Linked DNA regions of Homo sapiens: all the other regions are linked to region 2. Evidence: promoter capture Hi-C in 16 types of primary human blood cells and fetal thymus (Javierre and others, 2016). All regions are on one chromosome and are shown on one strand. The core of a region is centred on a gene start or on the middle of the fragment in contact, and the rest is flanking DNA. Distances in the headings are between cores, read along the strand shown. Region 1 overlaps DENND5A (DENN domain containing 5A). Region 2 holds the start of AKIP1 (A-kinase interacting protein 1). Region 3 holds the start of LOC107984308 (a long non-coding RNA gene). Region 4 overlaps TRIM66 (tripartite motif containing 66). Region 5 overlaps DENND2B (DENN domain containing 2B).

Evidence for each region. Contacts are between HindIII fragments. The CHiCAGO score rates a contact against its expected background, and 5 or more counts as called.
Region 1: a fragment that was not itself captured here is called in contact with the fragment with the promoter of AKIP1 in region 2 in 1 of 17 cell types (M1 macrophages); the score reaches 5.9 in M1 macrophages.
Region 3: a fragment that was not itself captured here is called in contact with the fragment with the promoter of AKIP1 in region 2 in 1 of 17 cell types (M1 macrophages); the score reaches 5.5 in M1 macrophages.
Region 4: a fragment that was not itself captured here is called in contact with the fragment with the promoter of AKIP1 in region 2 in 3 of 17 cell types (M2 macrophages, M1 macrophages and M0 macrophages); the score reaches 6.9 in M2 macrophages.
Region 5: a contact is called between a fragment that was not itself captured here and the fragment with the promoter of AKIP1 in region 2, in 2 of 17 cell types (M1 macrophages and M0 macrophages). The highest score is 9.9, in M1 macrophages.

The regions. Positions count from the first base shown.
Region 1 is chr11:9,150,239-9,155,015 of GRCh38, forward strand. It overlaps DENND5A (DENN domain containing 5A), which reads right to left. Exons shown (of 23, transcript NM_015213.4): 13 at 2,120-2,204; 14 at 442-526. Among named protein-coding and RNA genes, the nearest start is that of SCUBE2, 61 kb to the left of the region's middle. The HindIII fragment of the contact is 258 bases long and covers 2,020-2,277 here.
Region 2 is chr11:8,909,848-8,914,626 of GRCh38, forward strand. It overlaps AKIP1 (A-kinase interacting protein 1), which reads left to right and starts at 1,342. Exons shown (of 6, transcript NM_020642.4): 1 at 1,342-1,376; 2 at 1,597-1,824; 3 at 2,606-2,686. The coding sequence starts at 1,603. It also overlaps a transcript of DENND2B not described here. RefSeq lists a silencer at 1,107-1,386 and enhancers at 1,477-1,546, 1,557-1,646. The HindIII fragment of the contact is 8,527 bases long and covers 1-4,779 here.
Region 3 is chr11:8,715,709-8,720,692 of GRCh38, forward strand. DENND2B (DENN domain containing 2B) reads right to left here. Exons shown (of 20, transcript NM_213618.2): 5 at 2,033-2,184; 6 at 1-110. It overlaps LOC107984308 (a long non-coding RNA gene), which reads left to right and starts at 2,476. Exons shown (of 2, transcript XR_001748118.2): 1 at 2,476-2,580; 2 at 3,373-3,824. The HindIII fragment of the contact is 3,161 bases long and covers 316-3,476 here.
Region 4 is chr11:8,673,136-8,677,549 of GRCh38, forward strand. TRIM66 (tripartite motif containing 66) reads right to left here. Exons shown (of 25, transcript NM_001388022.1): 4 at 1,671-1,748. Among named protein-coding and RNA genes, the nearest start is that of TRIM66, 7.3 kb to the right of the region's middle. The HindIII fragment of the contact is 5,452 bases long and covers 1-4,414 here.
Region 5 is chr11:8,697,866-8,702,403 of GRCh38, forward strand. DENND2B (DENN domain containing 2B) reads right to left here. Exons shown (of 20, transcript NM_213618.2): 15 at 1,348-1,525; 16 at 1,068-1,109. Among named protein-coding and RNA genes, the nearest start is that of SNORA3B, 15 kb to the left of the region's middle. RefSeq lists enhancers at 317-1,104, 1,105-1,890, 4,253-4,538 and a silencer at 1,097-1,391. The HindIII fragment of the contact is 8,144 bases long and covers 1-4,538 here.

The DNA of each region.
Region 1 (4,777 bases), core at 899-3,398, 240 kb after region 2:
GGGTGGGATGGGAGATGAACTCACTGCCAATAACTTACCTGTAAAGCCAAAGGAGACCTGCTGAGACAGACTTATCTCACCCTGGGAGAGCCTATCTCTATATTCTCCAAATACTGGGCTTCCATGTAGCTTTACCAGATAGGCTCACCATATTTTGGGAGGAAAAAAGACAGTACAGCCCTTAAAAAGCCAGGCTAACTCTGAGCCCTTAGGGCCTGAGATACTCTCCTATGCTCCCTCACCTCCAAAAATGCCAGGAAACCCAACGGTTTGTACAGCTTTACAAATGTATTATGAAACACAAGGCTTTGTGATTAGGAGGGCTTCCATGTTAGCTGAGATGCTGTAGCAGCCACTGAGACCTTGTTACTAAAAGTGGACACCTAAGCAGCAACTGAAAACAGGATTTTAGTGGCTTATTACATGTGAGCCCATACTGACCTCATATCCTGAATCAGGGAGATCCTCAGGGGAGGCATGAGTGAGCTGGCATCAGACTTCCTACGTTCTGAATCAAGAAGTATTCCTAGAATAAACAAGTTGGTCATGTCCAAAGAGATCTGAATATCCAAATAGCTGACTGCCCTTCCCTTACCTTAAATCACAAATTGCTATGGGAAACAGGTGGTTACACTGGTAACACTTTAATTGATTGTTTCATAAATATTTATGAAATTCCTACTAGAGACCGAATTTTACATTTTTATGGATATTATCTCATTTAATTCTCTAACAATTTATAAGGTAGCCAAAAAAGATATCACAATTTCCCCCACTTAACAGAGAAGGAAAATGACATTCAGAGAGGTTAGCTGCTTTGCCTATGTCACCAAGCAGCAAAGTCAGTACTGGAACACAGACCTCCTGGCTCCTAGTCTATCATGCTCTCACCATGATCCACAGAAGCAGTGCTTCCACTTGGAGCCACTACTCACATCCTGTTCTGGCTTCACAGCAGCCTACAAAAGCCCAAGAGAATATATAAAGAACAAGAATGTTCTGGTTCTGTTCCAGAATGATAGGACCTCTAGGAGAAGAGAAGATATAATACCTTTATATCCTCATGTCTGGCCTAATGTTTAAAACTTAGTATTTTCATCATCAAGCTGTTGAGAATTTTTGGCTACAGTTTATTCCTCAGCAATGACTTCTATAGCATTCTTAATAAGAACCTGCTTTTACACATCCAGAAAGCGGGCCAAAAAAATTCCTCATAAGCCTACCTGGAGAACTCTTGTCTCTAGTTTTCAGCCAATTATCTCCCCAGGTTCAGTGCTAGTTAAGGTCAACTAGTTCAAGGGCAACGAGTTCATGCCCATCTTTTTACCCCATTTAACTCACCTTTACCATTAAGATAAAAACATCCAAGAAAGGTAAACAAATGTCTGGCAGAGTGGAGAACAAAGGATGATGTGAAGGGGAGATGCACCCAAGAAGTAAAAGAAGCAGGGAGACTAGCCTGGAAAGGACACTGTAGGATGGTCTAAACATCAGAGCAGGAGATAAGATGACTGGCTCTTGTTTGGCCTCTTCCATGAGCTCACTTTGTGATCTTAAGTAAATTCAATTCCTCTCCAGACTCGTTTCCTCCTCTTGTAAAATAAAGGGCCTGGACTAGATGACCTCTGGAGTTGCCACAAACTCTGACATTTTTATTAGGTTAGAAACAGAAAGGAAGTATAAGGGATCATTCACACCAGGACTTGACTTTGAGGAGGTCCAAGGAAGGACACTGACCAACAGCTCTCTTGACTAACGGGATAGATAATCATAATGCCCATGTCAGAGAAATAAAACAAAAGACTCTGAAAACAGCCTGCTCCAAACCCAGGACACCAGTACCACAGTAAAACCCATATTCATTCTGAGACTGGCCTCTTGCCCAAATAAATTTTCTATCTTGCCGATAAAAAGGGTATAGAAATACATAATGAAAGCAAATGCCATGGTTTTGGTATGCTCTGTGGTTCAGAGAGTCTGGTGGCTCCATATTTAAAAGAGAAAACATTCCAGAGCAAAAGCTTCTTCGACCTGGAATAGTTTGCTTCAAAGTGATCACGCCAGTGGGTGATGGAAAAGTGGAGAGAGGGCAGACTCTCCATTGCAGAGACTATCTTACCTGAGGTACTGAGGCTTCCTGATGTGAGTTTTCTCTGCCGGTTGTCCTGATAATGTAACAGGTGGGACCATAAGGCTGATTTCCCCTGGAACCAATGCAAGGGAGAAACACCTATCAGTTTAGATTTCAGGGGTCAAGGCTTTCAACATACAGATAGAAGCTTTTGCTAAAAAAATATATGTACTGTTTCTTGTTTCAATGTACATCCAGGACACAGTGTATGCAAATATATCAATTTACTAAAATCCAGAAGAAATATAAACAATGGAAGGTAACAGAAAAAGGAAAGGGTCCCCTACTGGGAATAGAAAGGAGATGGGAAAGAGAGCCTGGTAAGGGACCAGTGGATAAGAAAGAAAAAAGCAGCTGGGCACGGTGGCTCACACCTGTAATCCCAACACTTCAGGAAGCCGAGGCGGGCAGATCACTTGAGGTCAGGAGTTCGATTCCAGCCTGGCCAACATGGTGAAACCCTGTCTCTACTAAAAATACACAAATTAGCAGGATGTGGTGGTGCATGGCTATAATCCCAGCTACTCAGGAGGCAGGAGAATCACTTGAACCCGGGAGGCAGAGGTTGCAGTGAGCCTAGATCGCACCATTGCACTCCAGCCTGGGCGACAGGGTGAGACGCCGTCTCAAAAAAAAAAAAACAAAAAAGAAAGAAAGAAAAAAGCAGGCCAGGCACAGTGTCTCACACCTGTAATCCCAACCCCAACACTGGGAGGCCAAGGCGGGCGGATCACTTGAGGTCAGAAGTTCGGGACCAGCCTAGCCAACACAGCAAAACCCTTACTAAAAATACAAAAATTAGCCGGGAGTGGTGGCACACGCCTGCTGTCCCAGCTACTCGGGAGGCTGAGGCAAGAGGATCACTCGAACCGAACCTGGGAGGTGGAGGGAGTTGAACCTGGGGGGCAGAGGTTGCAGTGAGCCAGGATCATGCCGCTGCACTCCAGCCTGGGTGACAGAATGAGGCTCCCTCTCAAAAAAAAAAAAAAAAAAAAAAAAAAGAAGCAAATGACCTATCATCCTCTAAATGGTCTGCTGGTTTTATGTCAGCTTGATGGCTTTTGCACAGAGGAGTGGATATCCAGCCTATAAGCTTCCATCTTAGCTCCTGAATTTCCTAAAATATTTAAAGTTATTCCTTTAAATATTGTTCTAGTCCTGATTTTGCTACTTGGTGAACTAGGCAAAGCAGTTTGGTGAACTTCTCTGAATGTCAGTTTCCTTCTCTGTTAAGTGGGGGAAACTGTGGTATCTTTGGCTACCTTATAAGTTGTTAGTGCAGGCCAGGGAGAGTAAGTCATCACTATAACAAGGATTTACTATTGAAGGTATAGTTGAAGAAATGTGCAGAAAGGTAGGCTGGTACTTAACTGCATGGCTGAAATAAACTACAGTCAATATAATAGAACCTTGGCGTTTGGAAAGGTAAGAACTGCACTTTAAACCATTTGAGATATGTAGCAATTTGTCATTTTGCCAAGGCACAAACCTGAATAGTATTTGCAAGCCTGATGTGAGGGAGTAATTCACCTGGGTAATGAGTGAGCCCAGCTGGTCACCCAGCAACTGCTTTGTCTCTTTCTAATCATCGTTCAGTACATCATAACCCTTGTTAAGTGATAACTTTATTTCAGATTCATGGTAAATGTTCCCATGCAGATAATAAAATAATATAAAGGTGGTATGTTTGTTTTAGTAAGATTACAATAATTTTATAAATGACTTTGGTTCTATAATAATGATAGAAGCTACCAGGTCTTGAGGCTTACTATGAACTAAGCACTATGTCAGATGTTCAAAATACAATATTTTAATTAATGCTCCCAACAGTCTAATAAGGTAGATATCTCTATCCCTATTTTCTGTAGAGAAGAAGAAATTGAGGATCGGAAAGGTTAAGTTAACTTGTAAGAGGTCACACCGTTAGTAAGCAGAGTGTTGGGATTCAAGCTTAAGTCTATCTAATGTCAAAACCATTGCTCTTAATAACTATGCTACACGAGATGCTTCTGAAAAGATCATTTAACTTTTTAAGTTATACTTTCTGAGGAAAATTTTGTGCTATGGAATTAATGTGAAGATTTAAGGTCTTAAGATATACCCCATGAGAATACTGAGGGTCTATTTTGTTTCTATTCACAAACTTGATCTACTCTGGGGAAAAAAAAAAACAAACATCTGAATGGTAGGAAACCCTCGCTATAGATCAGCAAGCTGTCAAAATAAGCTTGCTGTATGTTTGTACTTCCTACAAAATTCATAAACTTAAAACCCAACAACTTCAAAGACAATTTTTAAAATATATAAAAACTAAAATTAGAAAATACCAGGTTTTATTCATCCAAATAACAAATATTTGAAAAAAAAAATGTCTAACAACATTAATGAGACTTACAAATCCTATACTAACTGCTTCTAAGAAGGTCTATTGTTTCCTGTTGGGAGCCAAAAAGAAAAAAAAATTTTAATTTAAAAAACTTAAAAAAAAAAAGAAGGTTGACTGGGCGCAGTGGCTCACATCTGTAACCCCAGCACTTTGGGAGGCCGAGGTGGGTGGACCACCTGAAGTCAGGAGTTCGAGACCAACCTGGCCAACAGGAGGAAACCCCATCTCTACTAAAATACAAAAATTAGGCGCGCATGGTG
Region 2 (4,779 bases), core at 92-2,591:
TATTTGTGTTCCTTAAAGTGACCCCCACTGAGCGTGTCCCTCAAAGTGGACCTTCCTAAGCATCGGCGCTTTGCTTTGCGCTGGGTGGTGCGGCTGAGTCACTAATTAGCAGTGAGAGCCTGGGCTGTATCTCCTACCAAATAACCAGCGGAGTGGAGTGACAGGTCCTTACTTAAACATGGTTTAAGTAAGCATTCACAGTTCCTTACTTAAACATGGTGCAGTCTTCCTAAAAGATGGAGTCAGACCCCAAGAGAACAGGTCTCCAAAAATATGTGAATCCGTACTTCCCACTGGAGGGGAGAGAGAGCTGCGCTGAGGGATTATGAGAGACCCTACAACTTCTCAGGCGCCCCCTGCCCCGGGGGCCAGGAACATCTGCAGACAGCCCCGCCTCCGTCTCGCCTCAATCCCGAGCTGTTCCCTTCTCCAAAGGCCACCTTGGCAGCCACACAGTTTGGCCTAATCACCTCCTCAAACAAGAGTAGCGACACCCCAAAATGTAGACCAAGCAGAAAGAGGCGCGGGAGGCACTTGCCTTATTCCCCATGATGTTTTTGTTTTGAGACGAAGTCTTCCTCTGTCGCCCAGGCTGGAGTGCAGTGGCGCGATCTCGTCTCACTGCAACCTCCGCTTCCCGGGTTCAAGCGATCCTCCCACCTCGACCCTCCCGAGTACCTGGGACTACAGATGCGCGCCACCACTCCTCCTACTGTGTGTGTGTGTGGACACGGGTTGTCGCTATGTTGCCTACCTAGCTGGTACCCCATAACCACTCCTGGCTAGTGTGTGTGTGTGTGTGTGGACACGGGTTGTCGCTATGTTGCCTACCTAGCTGGTACCCCATAACCACTCCTGGCTAGTGTGTGTGTGTGTGTGTGTGTGTGTGTCTACACGGGTTCTCGCTATGTTGCCTACCTAGCTGGTACCCCATAATTTTTTAGCTCAACAGGAGACCTGCCTTTATACCCACCAAGTTAAGCAGCGCAGTAGCCCTCTAAGGGCCAGCCCCACGCCCAGAGGCTCCTCTGACAGCGTGGACAGATGCCCTGGGCTGCTGGCTCGACTCAGTCCTCAGCCCCCAGCCCCCGACCCCCGACCCCCGGCCCCCGACCCCCGACCCCCGGCCCCCAGCGCCCGGCGCCCCGCCTCCAGCGCTCAGCAGTTAACCAGGCAACTCGCGCGCAGACGCCAAGGCTGGGACGCAGAAGGCGTGTTTGGCCGCCCAGCCGCCCCGCCTCCCCCACTTCTCCCGCCTCTCCCGCCTCTCCCGCCTTCCGCCAATGGCCCAGCTGCGCCGGCGCCGCCGGGAGCGCTAGGCCTGGTCCCTCTTCCTAGAATAGCGTTGCGCGCATGCGCCTTGACGAGTGAGCCGGGTGAGGGGGCTCCCTAAGTAGCGGAAGGGGTAGATGAAAATGGAAGGGGCGGGCGCGCTAGGCCTAGTCCTGGCTGGGCTCCCGCTGGAGTGTGCGTTGGGGGCGGACCAGGAGCGGTGGTCTCCAGGGAGGTCGAGGCTGGGGCTCCCACCCGGATTTGGAGCAGGGTCGCCGCGGCCCAGCTGACCCGCCGGCGTTTGTACGTTGTGTGCCCACTCAGGGAGCCATGGACAACTGTTTGGCGGCCGCAGCGCTGAATGGGGTGGACCGACGTTCCCTGCAGCGTTCAGCAAGGCTGGCTCTAGAAGTGCTGGAGAGGGCCAAGAGGAGGGCGGTGGACTGGCATGCCCTGGAGCGTCCCAAAGGCTGCATGGGGGTCCTTGCCCGGGAGGCGCCCCACCTAGAGAAACAGCCGGCAGCCGGCCCGCAGCGCGTTCTCCCGGGAGAGGTGAGGGTCGCTGTGCCGGGGGCCGCCCCAGTCCTTCGCGCCGCGGTAGCCCGCTGGGAGCCAGGGGTGCGCAGCGCAGAAGCAGCTGAGGAAACCTTCCCTTAGCGGAAGCTGGAAAGGATCAGAACAATGAATGGAAAAGTCCTTTCAAAACGCTTTACATTTGACAGATTCTTGTTGGGTAGCTGTAGAATAACGGTAGTGTTCAGCCCTGGTTGGTTACTTAAAAAAAAAAAAAAAAATTAGCCGGGCGCGGTGGCTCATGCCTGCAATCCCAGCACTTTGGGAGGCCGAGGCGGGCGGATCACCTGAGGTCGGGAGTTCGAAAGCAGCCTGACCAACATGGAGAAATCCCGTCTCTACTAAAAATACAAAATTAGCCGGGCGTGGTGGCGCATGTCTGTAATCCCAGGTACTAGGGAGGCTGAGGCAGGAGAATCGCTTGAACCCGGGAGGCGGAGGTCGCGGTGAGCCGAGATCGCGCCATTGCACTCCAGCCTGGGCAACAAGAGCGAAACCTCCGTCTCAAAAAAAAAAAAAAAAAAAAAATCTTACAGCTATCATCTGATAGTAGAGGAAAGCCTGCAAGCCTGTCTCTTAGATCCTGGATAAATTGCATGTCTATCTTTTAGAGTTGGAATTCTTTCTCAATAACATCGTTCTTTCTGACATAAACTTGCAGAGCCTTTCCAAAAGTAAAAAGGAGACTATTTCCAAAATGGCTTCATTCTCCAGTAGGGAATCCTAGAGCTAACCTGTGACGTGCCATTTATTCAAATAGAGAGAAGAGAGACCCCCAACCCTTAGTGCTTCCTTCAGAACAATGGCTGAATTCATGGACTATACTTCAAGTCAGTGTGGGGTAAGTTGGTGTGAACCAAAACTATGCCCCATCACCTGCTGATGGACCACATTTGGATCTTTCTGGAATTTACGGAGAATCTGGACACTACCTGTTTCTCCTGCCCAGCCTTCACGGTCAGATTGTAATCAGTCAAGGACTTAAACCAGGGGGTAAATCCAAGTTAGAATTCACCCAATAAATGTTTATTGAATGCCTAACCCTGTAGCTGACAATATAGCAATGAAAAGTCAGAAAAGGTCTTCTGCCCTCAGTGATCTTTCAGTCTAGTGGGGGGAAAATAGCTTATTTGCCGAATTTCATAGCAAATAAGTTAAATATTAGGGGTTTTTTTTAACTTTTTTTTTTTTTTTTTTTTTGAGACAGAGGCTTGCTCTGTGGCACAGGCTGGAGTGCAGTGGTGTGATCTCGGCTCACTGCAAGCTCTCCCTCCTGGGTTCACACCATTCTCCTGCCTCAGCCTCCCTAGTAGCTGGGACTACAGGCGCCCACCACCACGCCCAGCTAATTTTTTTTTTTGTATTTTTAGTAGAGACGGGGTTTCACTGTGTTACCCAGGATGGTCTCCATCTCCTGACCTCGTGATCCGCCCGCCTCAGCCTCCCAAAGTGCTGGGATTACAGGTGTGAGCCACCGTGCCCGACCTTTTTTTTTTTTTTTTAATTGAGACAGAGTCTCACTCCATCACCCAGGCTGGTGTGCAGTGGCTCAGTCTCGGCTCACTGCAACCCCTACCTCCTGGCCTCCTGGTTCAAGCGATTCTCCTGCCTCAGCCTCCCGAGTAGCTGGGACTACAGGCACATGCCACCATGCCTGGCTAATTTTTGTATTTTTAGTAGAGACAGGGCTTCACCATGTTGGCCAGGCTGCTCTGGAACGCCTGACCTCGAGGGATCCGCGCATCTTGGCCTCCCAAAGTGCTGGGATTACAGGCTTGAGCCACCATACCCAGCCAAGTCATCTTTCGATACTTAGGGAATGTTGAGGGCAGGCCAGAAAACATTCAAGGAAATTACCTGCATGGAAGGCACTGTCTTCTAGGAATTACAGCAGGCTCTGGCCTCATGCAGTCTTAACACTTGGTGAGTCCTACATGGTTTTAAGGAGGCTGATCCACAAAGGAGATGGAAGAGAATACCTTGTTTCTGCCCTGCTTTTCAGTTTCATATGTTAAGATCTCAAAAAACTCTAATCTTTCTACATCTTTTATAAGAATCCCTGACTCCAAGAATAGGATTCCAACCAAAGAGGAATACTTCAGGGAATATTTTTATCTTATTTGTGTTGTTCAGTGGTTTTACAAAAATCAATAGCCTCAACTCTACTGTAAAGTGATTAAACCCTTGGTTCATGGTTCAGCAAAAGGAATAATATTTGTCTTTGGTTTGAGGTTTAGCAAATTGCTGTTCTTCATTTTTGTTTTCAGTTCATGCTTCAGTTCAAGTCTCTGTTATGAAATGGAGCCTCAGAACCTCTTGGCTTTCTAGAGATAGAATTAAGAATTGTGTACTGGGTTTGTCTCCACAGTTTGAAGCAGCCACTAAAACACATCTTTAGGTCTGTGTCCTCAAGTGCTTTCCCCAGCTTCTCGTTCTTCTGGTCACATGTTTTTTAGACAGTGTGCCTACCCTGTTCAAAACAAGCAGGGCTGTGATGTCATTAGTCATTATCAAGGGCAAGTCTAAGGCTAACTTTGAGGGGGAGGAAGGAAGCAGACAAGAGAAATGTAACTGTTTTCCGATCTTTCGGAAGATTCTTCTTAAATTAGAGACTTCTCCCTCCACTCCCCCACGCGCAGGAAGCACAGAGAAAAGGGCTGCAGAGCAGCTCTTGGGTTTGTTTCATTTCCTGCTGTGTTTCTAAATCTCAGGAAAATGTACCCCTCTCTTCCCGTGTCCTGGTCTGAGACTTAGACAATAAACATGGAACCGTTCATCCACATTTTTTAGGGGAGGAAATGAAAGGATATGTGCATTGGACATGGGGGCAAAGATGTGAAATTTGTTTAACCTGGCAGAGAGCATGGTCCTGCCCACCTTTAGTTAGCCAGCGTTCTTGCCCTATGGAGGCAGCAGGTGGCAGCACGGGGATGC
Region 3 (4,984 bases), core at 646-3,145, 190 kb before region 2:
AGCAGCATGTCGTCATGGCTGTGCCTCTTGGGTAATCGTGGCAGCCGGTGGCTCTTCCTTTCTGACCAGTTCCCACTGCGCAGGGACTGGCTGTTGGGTTTCAGGGAAAGCTGGCGTGGGGGAGAGGACGTGCGAGAGGGGCTTGCCACAGAGGCCTTGGCCAGTGTCTGTCTGCTGGGATGGGGACACAGAGGCCAAGGGCCGGCATCCCTGGATCCCCGCCATCTTGCCCTGGAACTTCCATCCCTCTCTTAAGACTTTAGCTGCTAATCAGCCAGGTCAGGGATAGATTAGATACTTGCCTTCCCTAAAGGAAGCTTCACTACTGCCAGCAAAAAACGAAAGCAGAGGCTAAAAACACCTGTGCTCTCATCTGAGTGGAAAAAGAAGACTAAGTGGGAATTTTGCGGGGGTCCTCCTGAGCTATGGGACAAGAATTACTGGGCCTGGGTGATGGAACCAGTCTTCCGGACCTCTGCTCCCGAGCCAATCCTAAAAGGTTTCTGACAGCAGAGGCCATAACCTACTGGCCAGCCTGCTGGGCTGGGAGATCCTGCAGCCTGGCCCTCCTAACTGCTCCCATGGAGAACACAGGGGCTCTGGGCTCTGACCACCAAAGCTGGGCCAGGCAGGCCTCACACTGAATTGGATCCCATACCCACAAGGCCCTGGCTGCCCTCTCCCCAGCCCTGATCTACTCTCTGCCTCTCTCCATATGCGCTGACCTCTCATCCCAGGGCACCATCCTTGTCGCGGACCCTGTCAGGAGGCAAGTATCCCACAGACACCCAACCACTGTCTGGTTCTGGAATTGCCTCTCCTCACTCCTCAGCAAATCCTCCTTCCTCCACAGCCCCCAATTTCCTGTTCTCACCCAATCAATCTGGCAATGCAAACTCAGGGGAAGCCTGTTTGAAAAGAGTCCTAATTAGAGGGTAAATCTTTTTTTTTTTTTTTGAGACGGAGTCTCGCTGTGTCGCCCAGGTAGGAGTGCAGTGGAGCGATCTTGGCTTACTGCAACCTCCGTCTTCCGAGTTCAAGCAATTATCCTGCCTCAGCCTCCCAAGCAGCTGGGACTACAGGCGTGCGCCATCATGCCCAGCTAATGTTTGTATTTTTAGTAGAGATGAGGTTTCACTGGCCAGGCTGGTCTTGAACTCCTGACCTCAGATGATCTGCCCACCTTGGCCTCCCAAAGTGCTAGGATTACATGCGTGAGCCACCACTCCCAGCTATGGGGTAAATCTTTTATAAAAACAAACACCTTATTCCAAAGGCAGAAGAAATCATTTTTATATTATCATTTTATATTATCTGGCCAATGCTATATAATATCCAGGTCCTTCCATTTGCAAAGAGAATTAGAGTTACCTGGGGAGGTCAGAGAAGCCTCTCCACCTGCCTCCTGACATCCTGGACAAGGACAGAAGGAGCTGAAGTCCAAGAGCTTCCTTTGGCTTTTCACCTTTCCTGTCATTCTGCCTTCTCCCCATCCATTCCTTAAAGATTCATGCTTACTCTCTCCCACAGGACTGGCTCCAGGTGTCACAGACACCTGTCTGGCTCTCCAAATGTGGTTTGGGGACCTACACCTAGCCCCCTAATGCCAGTACTGAGATGACTTCTGGCAGAGTTGCAGAATGCCAAGACTCCCACTAGGGCCCTGTCTTCCTGTTTCCCACAGGGTGATAAATAATCAGAGAGGAGACTGCAAGGGCTCCTGGCTGAGTTTTGCAGCTCAGAGCTTGTGTAGGAAGGGAAAGAAGATAGGACAGGATGCCCCTCAGAGCAGGTGCCAATTGTCCACAGAGGTTTCAACATGGTGGACATCCTTGAGTGCACAGTCCTTTGCTGAGGAGACCTCCTTTATCAGACGAGATCGGGCACGTTCAGGGTGGTATGGCCGTAGACCCTTTATCAAGTACTAGTGAGGGTAAAAGCCTGAGTGGAAGCTGGGCCCAAGTCTTGGAAGAGCAGGCCCCCACTGTGGCCCTCACGCTAACCCTACAGGCCGATGTCAGGGCTGAGTTACCTGTGTGGGCGGGCTGTTGTACTTCCTGTCCTGAGGACTCCACATCCTGTGCAAAGAGTCCAAGGAGTTCTCAGACAGTTGCTGGGATTTTCGTCCTGCTCTTCGGCTCTTTAAGTCCACATCCTCATATGGATTCTCCTTGGGCAGATCTCCTGCAGAGGAGGAAGAGTTAGAGAAGGGGGAGAAGGGAAGAAGGAAACACACGAACTCACACACACACAAATAAACAAGCAGAATTCCTGTGAACCAAAGAGAATGGCTTCTGCCTGGCCCCTCAGCTCATGAGTCATGCAGCTGCCCGTCTGCAGTGGGGAGGCTACAAACAGATCCTGGCTCCAAGTCCAGAAGCAGACCCACCCCCCCACCCCCCCCAACCCCCCACCCCCAGCCCAGCTCAGCCTGGCCTCTGCTTTATAAATTCAGGGATTGCACAAGACTGGCTCAGCCACCCCTGCCTGTGCCCAGCCAGAGGACAAAGCCAGCAACAAGAGTCTTTCCTTGGCTCCCTTCCCTCTGCTGCAAACACCCCAGAGATAACACAGTTCAAGGTAGGAAGGGTTTTCAGGTCACATGGCTGTCCCTTCACCCAACTCTCAGGGGATCTCCCTGGGGACCTACTTTGGAGGGTGGGCATGGAGGAACTCACAGAACCGTAGGGAGCAGGGCTTCGCCAGGCCCCCTTCTCACCTACGATGCCGTTCAACAAGTCTTTTAGGGCAGGGTTTTGTGTTGTTCACTGAGGCAACCTCGGAACGGAACAGTGATTAGCAAGGAGGAAGTGTTCAGTAATGATCTGTTCGATGACTCTCCTACTGTAGTGTCTATTCCCTCTACCGCTGATCTCAGCAAAAAGAGAACCATCAACACTCCCCTTTTGGAACAAACTCTCCTGCTGTGACACAGGGGAGGTGTGAAAGGCTTGGAAGGAGTCTGGGCCAAAGGGTGGGGGTGAGGGGAGTTCTTGCTTCTCAGGACTAGTTCTAAAATCTCTGGCAGCGGGCATTGTATTGGCATTACCAGAAAATCTCAGAAAAGTCCAAAACAGAATCCCTGCCCTTGAAGATGTTGAGTGGCACTCCTTTCCACAAGCTGTATCTCCTGCCCCCACCCCTCCAACACACACATTTTCTAAAATAGAGTAACACCATGGGCCGGGTCAGTCCTAGCTCAATCCTGGTGGCAGAATCCGTGGGGTGAACAGGTCCCTGGGGAACTCAGAACACAGCCCTCTCTGCACCCCTTTCCCTATTTTCCTGCTGCAGAGCAGGACTCACTCCAGCACCTCTGCTCAGCAGCAGGATTGAGCCTGGGTGCCACTGAGTCCCACACTTGTTCTACAGATGTCTGAATGTGCCTTACGCCCCAGAGGAACTCAGACCCCACTCCTCAGGAAGCAGGCAGAAGAAGGAGCTGGAGGACGAGGAACAAAGGCTGCTGAGAGTGAAGCTTTCCTAGAGAGGACACGGGAGAAGAGCCAATCCCTATATGCTTGCAGATTCCTCCATTTCCAAAGTGGAGCTCCCTCCACATTGTGGCATCTACTTATGCAGAACCACAACGAATTTAGGAAATGCTCTAACAGAGTTAGGGTGTGGGTGTGAAGGAGGGATTTCAGTGACAGCTAAATAGACTGCAGTGGGAGCAATATAAATCTCTGTAAACTTATGAGTCAAAGATGGGTCACTGGGATTTGGGACTGGATTAAGTGATTCCCAACTCCAAGCAGAGTCCCCAGCAATGGAACAGACCTTTTCCTGTAACACAGTCATGCTATTAAAATGACTTGTCTCCATTCCAGAGCCCTGACTAAGCGGAGCTGGCCCAGCAGCCCTGTCGCAAGAAGCCAAATAGCAAACCCGGCACCCCCTGCATGTTTTCTCCAGCCTACCCCACTGTGGGGCACTTAGGGAGGTGTTGGGGATGGATTCTCTACTTCTTGATCCTTCCCCAACATATGCCCTGCAGGAGTGAGGAGGTGGGGGAACTAAGAAGGGAGAATGCCAGGACACAGTCTTCTGATCCCCTAAAACAGGACCAGAGCATCACTGTCCACATCACGGCAGGGAGAACATTTATGCCAAGCTCAACAAATCGAAACTGCCTTGGACTGCATGATCAGCCAGGGCCTTTATTGTCATCCCCAACCTATAGGAAGCCTTGTCCCAATCCCAGGGGTTTCTCCAAGCCACTGACATTTGGGGTTGAATAATTCTTGTTGTGGTAGACTGTCCTGTCCATTTTTAGGATGTTTAGTGGCAACCTTGGCTTCTATCCACCAGGAGACATTAGCATCTCCTTAGCTATAACAGCCAAAAATGTCTCCAGACACTGCCAGATGCTCTCTGGGACGGACAGAGGGAAGGAGGGAGAGAGAGGGAGGGAGGCAGGAATGGAGGGAGGGAAGAGTGAAGTTGTCCCCCAACTGAGAACCACTGCTTTAGATAGAGCTTTCTAAACTTCCAATGGCTTCTGAGTGTGACATGAGTCCCAAGACTAGCCCTCTTTTTTTTCCATCCTTCCCTCCTTCACCTCACTCCCTCCTTCCTTCCTTCTTTTCCCTACAGTAAGAGCTTTGAATATTGATACAAAATCCAAAGCTCCAAGAAAAAGACATAGGATACTGAGGCCCAGGGAAGTAATAGATGTACAAGCCTGGTGCACATCACTGACAACCCAGGGGAAAACAGCCAGCAACATCAGGTTCTCAAGATAGGTCCTGTCTCTGGAAACTCAATTTCAGGAAGGCCTGCTCCTCCCCAGCCCCTTGTGCCAGCCTCTCTTCTCCAGCAATGTTTAACATCCTGTCTAATGTAACAAAGCCACTAATCAGTTCTCCAGCAAATAGACGGCTGGCTGCAGCCCACACGCTGCCTCCCCAGCCTCAGCTTGGTCCCTTCACTGCCCTAACTCATCTCTCAGCTTCCTGGACCATTCCTGACTGCCCCGGAGGAG
Region 4 (4,414 bases), core at 719-3,218, 240 kb before region 2:
TTCACCGTGGTCTCGATCTCCTGACCTCATGATCCACCCGCCTCGGCCTCCCAAAGTGCTGGGATTACAGGCATGAGCCACCGAGCCCGGCCCACACTCTTAATTAGTGAAATGTTCTTAAGCTGAGGTCCACACACATATTTTCATGAGTTCTGTCCACTAATTTTTTAAAATTAGTGTTTCATTGTGATAATAAAGTTTTAAAAAGTATAGTCTGGATTATCTACATATCTACCACAATATGATTTTGGGGGTAGTGTTAAGAGTCTAGGATTTAGTACACACTAGGCAGTATTACTTGTCTCAGGTTAATGAGCTGAGAGAGGGGCAGACTTAATACACAAATAATGTATTCTTGCCACTTGAAGTCTAAACAACATTGTGGCACAAAATGATGCATGTTTTACAGTACTTGGAACAGAGAAAGGAAGTGGGAAAACTGAGCCATCATCATTGTGGCATATGTTTGCTGAACTTAGCTACAAGAGTGAGCACCACATTTAAGTCATAATGATAGTTTAGTTTAGAAAAACATCACATACATGTGAAATTAATATTATTAATTTGATGGCTTTGTAGTTTTTTACAATTTGTAAACTATATTCAGTTTTATAGTTGTATAACAGCTAAAAGCCAAAGGAAGTTGTAGCTAGTTTTATATTTGTACTTATTTAAGAAACAAAATACAAATCATTTAATTCAAATCTGGGTCTTGGTAATTATGCAAGTTTGAGAAAAATTTCACTCCAGTCTGAAGTCTTTAGGAGCCAAGCCTTCAGGAAGGAGGAAGGGTGATGGGGCTGGGAGAGGCCAGGCTGCCTGGGGTCCAGAAAGATGCCACTACATAAAGCTATAGATAGACCTGCACTTCTAATTCCTTCTGGGCATTATTTAGCAGAAAACAGCCATAGCAGCAGCATGATTAGAGACGAGGACAGTCTCTATTAGAAGGTTCAAGCATGCCTGAGTTTATTTCACTGGGCCAGTAGTTCTCAAACTTTTTGGTCTTGGGAATCCCTTTACATATGTTTACTCATTGAAGACCCCAAAGAGAGTTCATTTATGTGAACTATTGCTATTTACCACACTAGAAGTTAAAGCTGAGAAAATCTATTGCTATTTACCACATTAGAAGTTAAAGCTGAGAAAATTTTAAAACATTAATTTTCATAAAATAATAAACTTGTTATATGTTAACACGAATAACATACTTTTTGGAAAAAATAACTATTTCCTTTTTTCCATTTATTTATTTATTTATTTTTTGAGACAGGGTCTTGCTCTGTTGCCTAGGCTGGAGGGCAGTCGTGCGAAGTTCACTGCAGCCTCAAACTTCTGAGCTCAACCAAACTTCTTGCTTCAGCCTCCTAGGCAGCTAGCACTATAGGCATGTGCCACCACACCCGACTATTTTATTTTCATTTTTATTTTTGTAGAGACCAGGTCTTGCTATGTAGCCCAAGCTGGTCTCAAATTCCTGGACTCAAGCGATCCTCCATTTTGGCCGCCCGAAGTGCTGGGATTATAGGCGTGAGCCACTGCACCCAGCCTAAAAAAAAAAAATCAACTACTTTCAAAAAAATTAATTTAATGAGAAGAGTCACATTGTTTCTCATATGTGCCAAACCCTTTAACATCTGGCTTAATAAAAGACGGCTGGACTCCCATACCTGTTTCTGCAGTCAATCTGTTATATGTTGTTTTGTTCACAGTATATGAGGAAAATCCAGTCTCACACAGACATACAGCTGGAAAAGATAGGAGTACTTTAATAGCCTTATCAGGTAATTGTGGATATTCTTTGATACCACACCAAAATTCAACAGTGGTAGTAGTTTCTTAAATGTTATTTATAAGGTAGACTCTGAACCAAACTTTTCTTATTCTGTTATATTAAAATCTGCTGATCTTGCTCTTTGAACTAGTCTTTTCCCCAGGCACAGTTTTTTAACACCAAGCATTGGTCATTTGGAAAATACCAGTTCAATGACTTATGCAGATGTTCCAAATATCGACACATTTCATTACACAATAACAAAAAATCACATTCTTTAGAATCACCTCGAATCTCATCAGAAAATTCTTTTAAGCATTGAGAAGCTGCCAAATTCATGGAGGCAGCAAAAACTACCAGAATTCTAACTTTTGCTTGAACGCTTGAATTTTATCATTGGCAACAAATACTGTCAATTCACTTTTGAGAAAATATCGGACAAATTCCCAAGCCTGAATAACCACAGTTTGTCTGCCAGTTATTCTTTTTTTAGATGCAGTTTTGCCCTTGTTAACCAGGCTGGAGTACAATGGCGTGATCTTGGCTCATAGAAACCTCCACCTCCCAGGTTCAAGTGATTCTCCTGCCTCAGCCTCCCGAGCAGCTGGGATTACAAGCATGCACCACCACACCCAGCTAATTTTGTATTTTTAGTAGAGACAGGGTTTCTCCATGTTGGTTAGGGTGATCTCAAACTCCCGACCTCAGATGATCCACCTGCCTTGGCCTCCCAAAGTGCTGGGATTACAGGCATGAGCCATCGCACCCGGCCTGCCAGTTGTCCTTTCGTGTAATACTGATGTTTCACTTTTTATTTTTTTAATTATTATTTATTTATTTATTAATTTTTGAGAGAGTCTCGCTCTGTCGTCAGGCTGGAGTGCAGTGGCGTGATCTTGATTCACTGCAACCTCCGACTCCCTGGTTCAAGCGATTCTCCTGCCTCAGCCTCTCAAGTAGCTGGGATTACAGGCATGCACCACTACGCCCAGCTAATTTTTGTATTTTTAGTAGAGACGGGGTTTCACCATGTTGGCCAGGATGGTCTCAATCTCCAGACCTCGTGATCCACCCGCCTCAGCTTCCCAAAGATTACAGGCGTGAGCCACCACATCGTCCATTATGTTTCATTTTTTAAAAGGCTAGTTTAACTTGCAACTCAATAGCACAAGCACAGTTTCTCACTTTGATATGTAGTAGGAATACTTTTTCTTCACACAGAACATCAAAAAGAAATCTAAAAAAGTACTTAAGAATTTCAGGATTGAGATTTAATAAAAATTGTTACCACTTCATCATGGATGGACATTCTTAAGGTAAACTTCTTTTTTTTTTTTTTAACCGGCAGATGCTTAGTGGTAAAGAATATAAGGTTTTGTTCCAGTTTGGTGCCCAAAACATCAGCAGTTTTACATAACATTGCTTTGGCACCATCAGTGCAAATGTCAACCCAGTGAAAAGATCAAATAACACGTTAGCTTTATTATTAAAATTGTTTGACCTGTGAACTCCCTGAAACGGTCTCAGGGACCCCCCACCCCATAAGGTCTACAGACCACACTTGGAGAACTACTGCATTAGACCTTGCATCACAATCCTGGGAATTCAGGGAGGTAGCATGGCTTTCCACCACCAGCAAGTACTACACAGGGTAAGAATATAAAGAAACAGGCATCTCATTTATGTCTTAGAAGAGCAATTGAAGTAACTCCATGAAAGTAAATGGTTAATTTAAAGGCACAGCCACACAATGAGTTTCTGATTTGAGAAGACGAAGGGTCAAATGACCCCATTTCTGCCCCCTTCTTATGGCTGCTTTCATCATAACTTAGTTCTTCCCTCTCCTTCTTATCTCCCCTGACCTAGAAGAGTGTAGGGGACAGAGTTTGCAAGACTGTACTTAAGCCAAGGTAGTAAATTCAAATGCCTACAGGGGCTGGGCAATCTATATGAACGAAGTGCTTTACTTAAAAGAATGTGGGTCTAATGTCTCCAAATCTTAGTTTTCCAAAACCCAGGAAATTATTTTTATTTACATTTTAAAATGTTAACAAAAAGTTAAATTTTAAAACATTGCCTTGCCACAAACCACCTCCTTTTAACATCTTACCACATCTATATCTAAGAAAAGGAAAATATTTACTGGAGTACCTTAACCTTGCTAAGGAATGATGGAACAAGTCATTCCACATCACATTGGGAATAAGAATTTCAAAGATTGTTTGCATGAAGGGTACAGAACAAATTATCATAAAAATAACACTCATTTTAGGGAGAAAATGTGAGCGAGAAATAGTAGGTAATGAGAGTACCTACTCTTTGCTAGGCTGTGTTATATGTGATATATTATTTGTTTGCTTGTTTAATGTATGTCTTAGACATAGTCTTAGGGAAGGACTTTTGTTCACAATTGTACCTGCCCCTCACTTGCCTGGCACCTAGCATAGGAACATAGTACACACTCAATTAATATTTATAAAACGAATGAATGAATCTCATTATTTTTTCATTATACAGACAAGAAAACAGATTCAAAGAGAACATGCTATTTGTTCAATATAATTCAGTGAGTAAAAACAGAACTAGGAGGCTGGGCGTGATGGTCATGCCTGTAATCCCAGTGCTTTGGGAGGGCGAGGT
Region 5 (4,538 bases), core at 2,029-4,528, 210 kb before region 2:
CGCCAGTAATCCCAACACTTTGGAAGGCTGAGCGGGAGGATCGCTTGAGCCCAGGAGGGAGTTCGAGACCAGCCTGGGCAACTTAGCAGGTCCCTCTATCTGCAAAACACACACAAAAAAACAATTAGTCAAGTATGGTGGCATGCACCTGTACTCCCAGCTACTTAGGAGGCTGACATGGGGAGGATCACCTGAGCCCAGGCAGGTCGAGGCTGCAGTGTCATGACTGTACCACTGCACTCCAGCCTGGATGACAGTGAGACCCTGTCTCCAAAAAAAAAAAAAAAAAAAAAAAAAAAAAGGGGGTAGAGCCAGTGTGGCATTCACTGGCCTCTGTGACCAGGACCAGCCAGGGGTTCCTGATTAGGTCTCCCCAATTCCTCCATCTTCAGCTCCAGGCAGGAGGCACAGTTGGCTTGGGGCAGGGGGACTGTGGCCAGCCTGTGTCTCAGGAATGAAGTTAGACTGTTGTTTCGTCTCTATACTCTGTTTCTGTGTCCACATCACTATGCCTGGTACCCAGGGAGTCCTCAGCTCCGTCATTGGTGTGTAACAGACAATAAGTACATTTCCATAGGGGAGAGCACTGGGTTGTGCTCCTTTGTAGAGAGCCAGGAGGATTTCCACGACTAACAAAGGCTTTTTGTAGTTGACAACAATGATTGCAAACCTGTACGTTACATAACAATCTATAGTTATTTGTGTAACCCCCAGCAAACATTTCAAGGCAGGTGTTGTCACCACCTCTCCTTTAGAGCTCAGAAGAATTTAGAGGCCTAAGACCATGTGGCTCAAAGGGGGCAAAGTCCAGTGGCCAAGTCTGTGGACTCCCAGGCCGTGTTCTTCAAATTCCCACACTGCCTTCTAGAAGCTCATGATGTCACTGGAAAGGCGGACCCTGCTAAGGTCAAGGATTCCAAGACCAGCTTCTCCCCACCCTTGACTAGTCTGTGAGTAGTACTGAACCCAGAGAGAGAGCTCAACAAACAGGTTGTGAAGGTTGAGTAGTGTGTGTGATGGTGCAGGGTGCTCAGGAGCCCAACTCTAGCAAGCACCCACCCTCTTACCTGTCGGATGAATCGGTCAGATCCCAGATTCACCATCAGCGCCTGAGAAAAGGAGTCATTAGCAGAGTGGCTCAGGGCATGAGTCCCGCAATGCCCTCTGCCAGGCCTCCAGACCTCCCAGGTTCCCAGGGTCAGCTAACAGGAAGTACTCCAGCCGGGGATAGACCTCCCAGGGAGAAAGGATAAGAGCCTGGTAAAGAGGCCGAGGGGCCACAAGTAAGATCCCAGCACCTGCTTCCCCCTCCACCCTTCCCCCCAGCTGGTTCCCCCGGTGGCCCACCTCCTCCACAGGCAGCTCCTTCAGTTTGGGGAGGGAGCTGGAGAGCAGGCCAACCAGGAAGGGGGTGGGACAGCAGACGATGTCAATCATGGAGGCCGGGAGGACAGGAATGAAGGTGTGCTGCCAGGAGAAGGGGTAGAGCAAGGCCACCACCGCGTGGGAGCAGCTGGAGAGGGTACTGATGGGCAGACAGAGAGACAGAGTACCTGAGCCCAGGCCCAGGAACTTAGAGCTCGCTGGAGGCTCAGGACAGCCTTTGATCGTAAACCTCCCAGTGCAACAAAAATGCTAATGGGGTTCAGGGACCCTGCAGACTGGTAAAGTCCCCGCTTTCCCACTGCGTAGCGCCTCAAGGACAACAATGCTACTCTCTTAGGGAAATGTACCTGCAAACAGCCAGGAAGGTATGCAGCAACCCGCAGGACAGTCATCTGACAAAGATCTGGAAAAGGGCTGTCTCGGGTTTGGGGGGCACATCAGTGGGCCCGTGGCTGAGGAGGCAGTAGGTTTTGTAAACCCCTAGGGCCAGTGAATGCAGATCGTGGGTACCCTCTCCCACCCCACATCAGAACTAGGCAAGAGGGACAAAGAACTTGTGGAAAACCTAAAACATCAGCAACGGATCATGAGCTGGCTGGACCTACCCCTCCCCTCTCCAGCCAGAGGCAGACCCCAGGCAGAACAGGAAGGACATCTTTTCCAAGACCCCAGATTGGCAGAACTTGAATACCCGGCCAGGCCAAGAACAAGACCTTGGGATCGTCCCTCCCAGAATGGTCCTGGAATGTGCTCAGAGGCAGCTGCAACCACAGGAAACAATAGCTGTATTCACAGCCCCACGGGAGCTGGCCTGGGGGGGGGCAGGGTGGCAAAGAGGAAGCTCAGCCCTGAATTAGAGGGTAGAACCTTCAGGAAAAGAAACCTCATGGTCCAGGCTCTCTTAGGGGCCACTAAGGTCAGGCCAGGCCAGGGCACCAAAGCTGGGCAGTCAGGGGCTTTGTTGGCTGACAATGACCATGGCTGGTACACAGGAGGGGCCTCTTGGAACTGCTGTACCCAGCTCATTCCAGCTGTTGGGCTAGATTTCTTCACAAGGGCCTGATGGGCCCACAGAACACCTAGAAGTGTGAGACACAGAAGCATTGAGGCTGTGATGGGAACAAGTGAGGGGCAGTTTTCCTTTCTAAACCCTGGTGCTCTATGGAAAAGTCAGCAGCTCTGGTTTTTCTTCCTCCTTTCTTCTCCTGGGCTGAGGATGGGCCTGCGTTCCTGTCCCTCTGAAGGCAATCGGGAGTTCATTTCTCGGTTTCCTCTCAACTGCTTCCTCATACATACGGAAGGAAATACCCCAGGGATTCAGGACTTATTGGAGGACAAACCAGAACGGGGATTTTCCTTCACTGCCCTCCTGTGAGCACCTGACATTTAAGGTGGCTTAATCAATGTCCAAATGACCACTCTAGAGAAACCACTGCTTGGGATGGATTCTTTGACCAAAACAATATGTAACATGTTGCCAATAACCCATCCTGTTGTTGTAGGACTTACTAAGAAATTATTTTATGGAGAGAGGAAAAGTTTTTGTTTCCTTTTTTTAAAAAAATTTTTAAATTTTTATTTATTTATTTATTTTGAGACAGAGTGTCACTCCCAGGCTGGAGTGCAGTGGCACAATCTCCGCTCACTGCAACCTCCACCTCCTGGATTCAAGCAATTCTCCTGCCTCAGCCTCCTGAGTAGCTGGGACTACAGGCCCAGCTAATACAGGGTTTCACCATGTTGGCCAGGAGAGTCTCGATCTCTTGACCTTGTGATCTGCCCACCTCGGCCTCCCAAAGTGCTGGGATTACAGGCGTGAGCCACTGTACCTCATTTCCTTTAAAGCAGCTCAAAAATGTTTCTTGTCTGGAAAGAAAGCCCCGGCTCTTAGAGCCAGGCAGGCAACCTTTGATATGCAAATGAAGACCATTAGAAATTGGGTCCACCCAACATGGCAATTCCCACCGTTGTCCTCTTGCCCTTGCCCCTACAGGTGCCTAGCAGCATGGCTGCCCCGCATATTCCCACGTGTGTAGAACATCAGGCGCCCTACATTCGCATATTAAAAGGCTAGGATGGGAAGGCCAGCTTCCGGGGGGGGGGGGGGGAGGGGCTACATGAATGACATGCCTGGTCAAACCAATCCCCTAAGCCCTATGCAAATCAAACACCGCCTCCTCCAGCCTTCTTATCAAACTGGCTGGTATCCACAACACTTGGGGTTCCCTCTCTCGGCTTTGGAGCCTCTCTCCCTCTGTCTCTGTACTTTCTTCTTTCTGCCTTTCTCCTTCCCTTCTTGCCTATTAAACTCTCCGCTCCTTAAAACCACTCCACGTGTGTCGGTGTCGTTTTATCTAAACCAGCATAAGAACCAAAAACCCTAGTGTTCCTGCACTCATCGGAGCCGTATCACTTGTGCCTTGCCTGTGTCACCCCCTAACCACCACTGACATAAAACTTTTTTCTTTTTTAAACCTTGGCTGTCTAGAAGAGCTCCGACTTCTTACTTCCTAAACTGCCTCACGTCCAGTGACCATCACTTCTGCCACCCCTCCCATGGCCACCACCAGACCTTCTCGACACCTCTACCTCTAAAATCATAAATGCCAGCATTTCAGACCAAGACCTGTGACCCATCCAGCTCTTTTCTTACTCCTCCTAAACCAGCTCCCCGACTTCCCTGGCACCTCCAGGCCCTGCACATCATCTGTTTCCCGGTGTGGGCTGGCCAGCCTTCCTCACCCACTCTCCTCTCTGCACCTCAGTGCCCCCATCACATCCTTCTCCCCAGCCCTCCCATTGCCCAGCCCTGGGCCACTGCAGTTGCCTTCTCCAGGGGACACCCTCCACAGGACCCTCGCTGGCTGGCTCAGCATTCCTCACACTGTCCCCGGTCAGTGCTCTTGCCCCTTCCTCACAGCAGCTCTTTCCTCAAACTCAGCATCCCATTGAGATGGCTTTGCCTCCCCCTCCAGAAGAAATGCAACCATCCACCAAAAATCTCAATTTCTTAACCTTTCCCCTTTACATATCCCGGCACCTGCACAGTCTTGGCTGTTGCAAAGGAAGAAATATCCCTCCCTCTCCCCTCAGGCCAAGCCCTCCACAGGGTTCTCAATCCTGCCATCTGTGTGCTCCCAAACCCTGCTCCC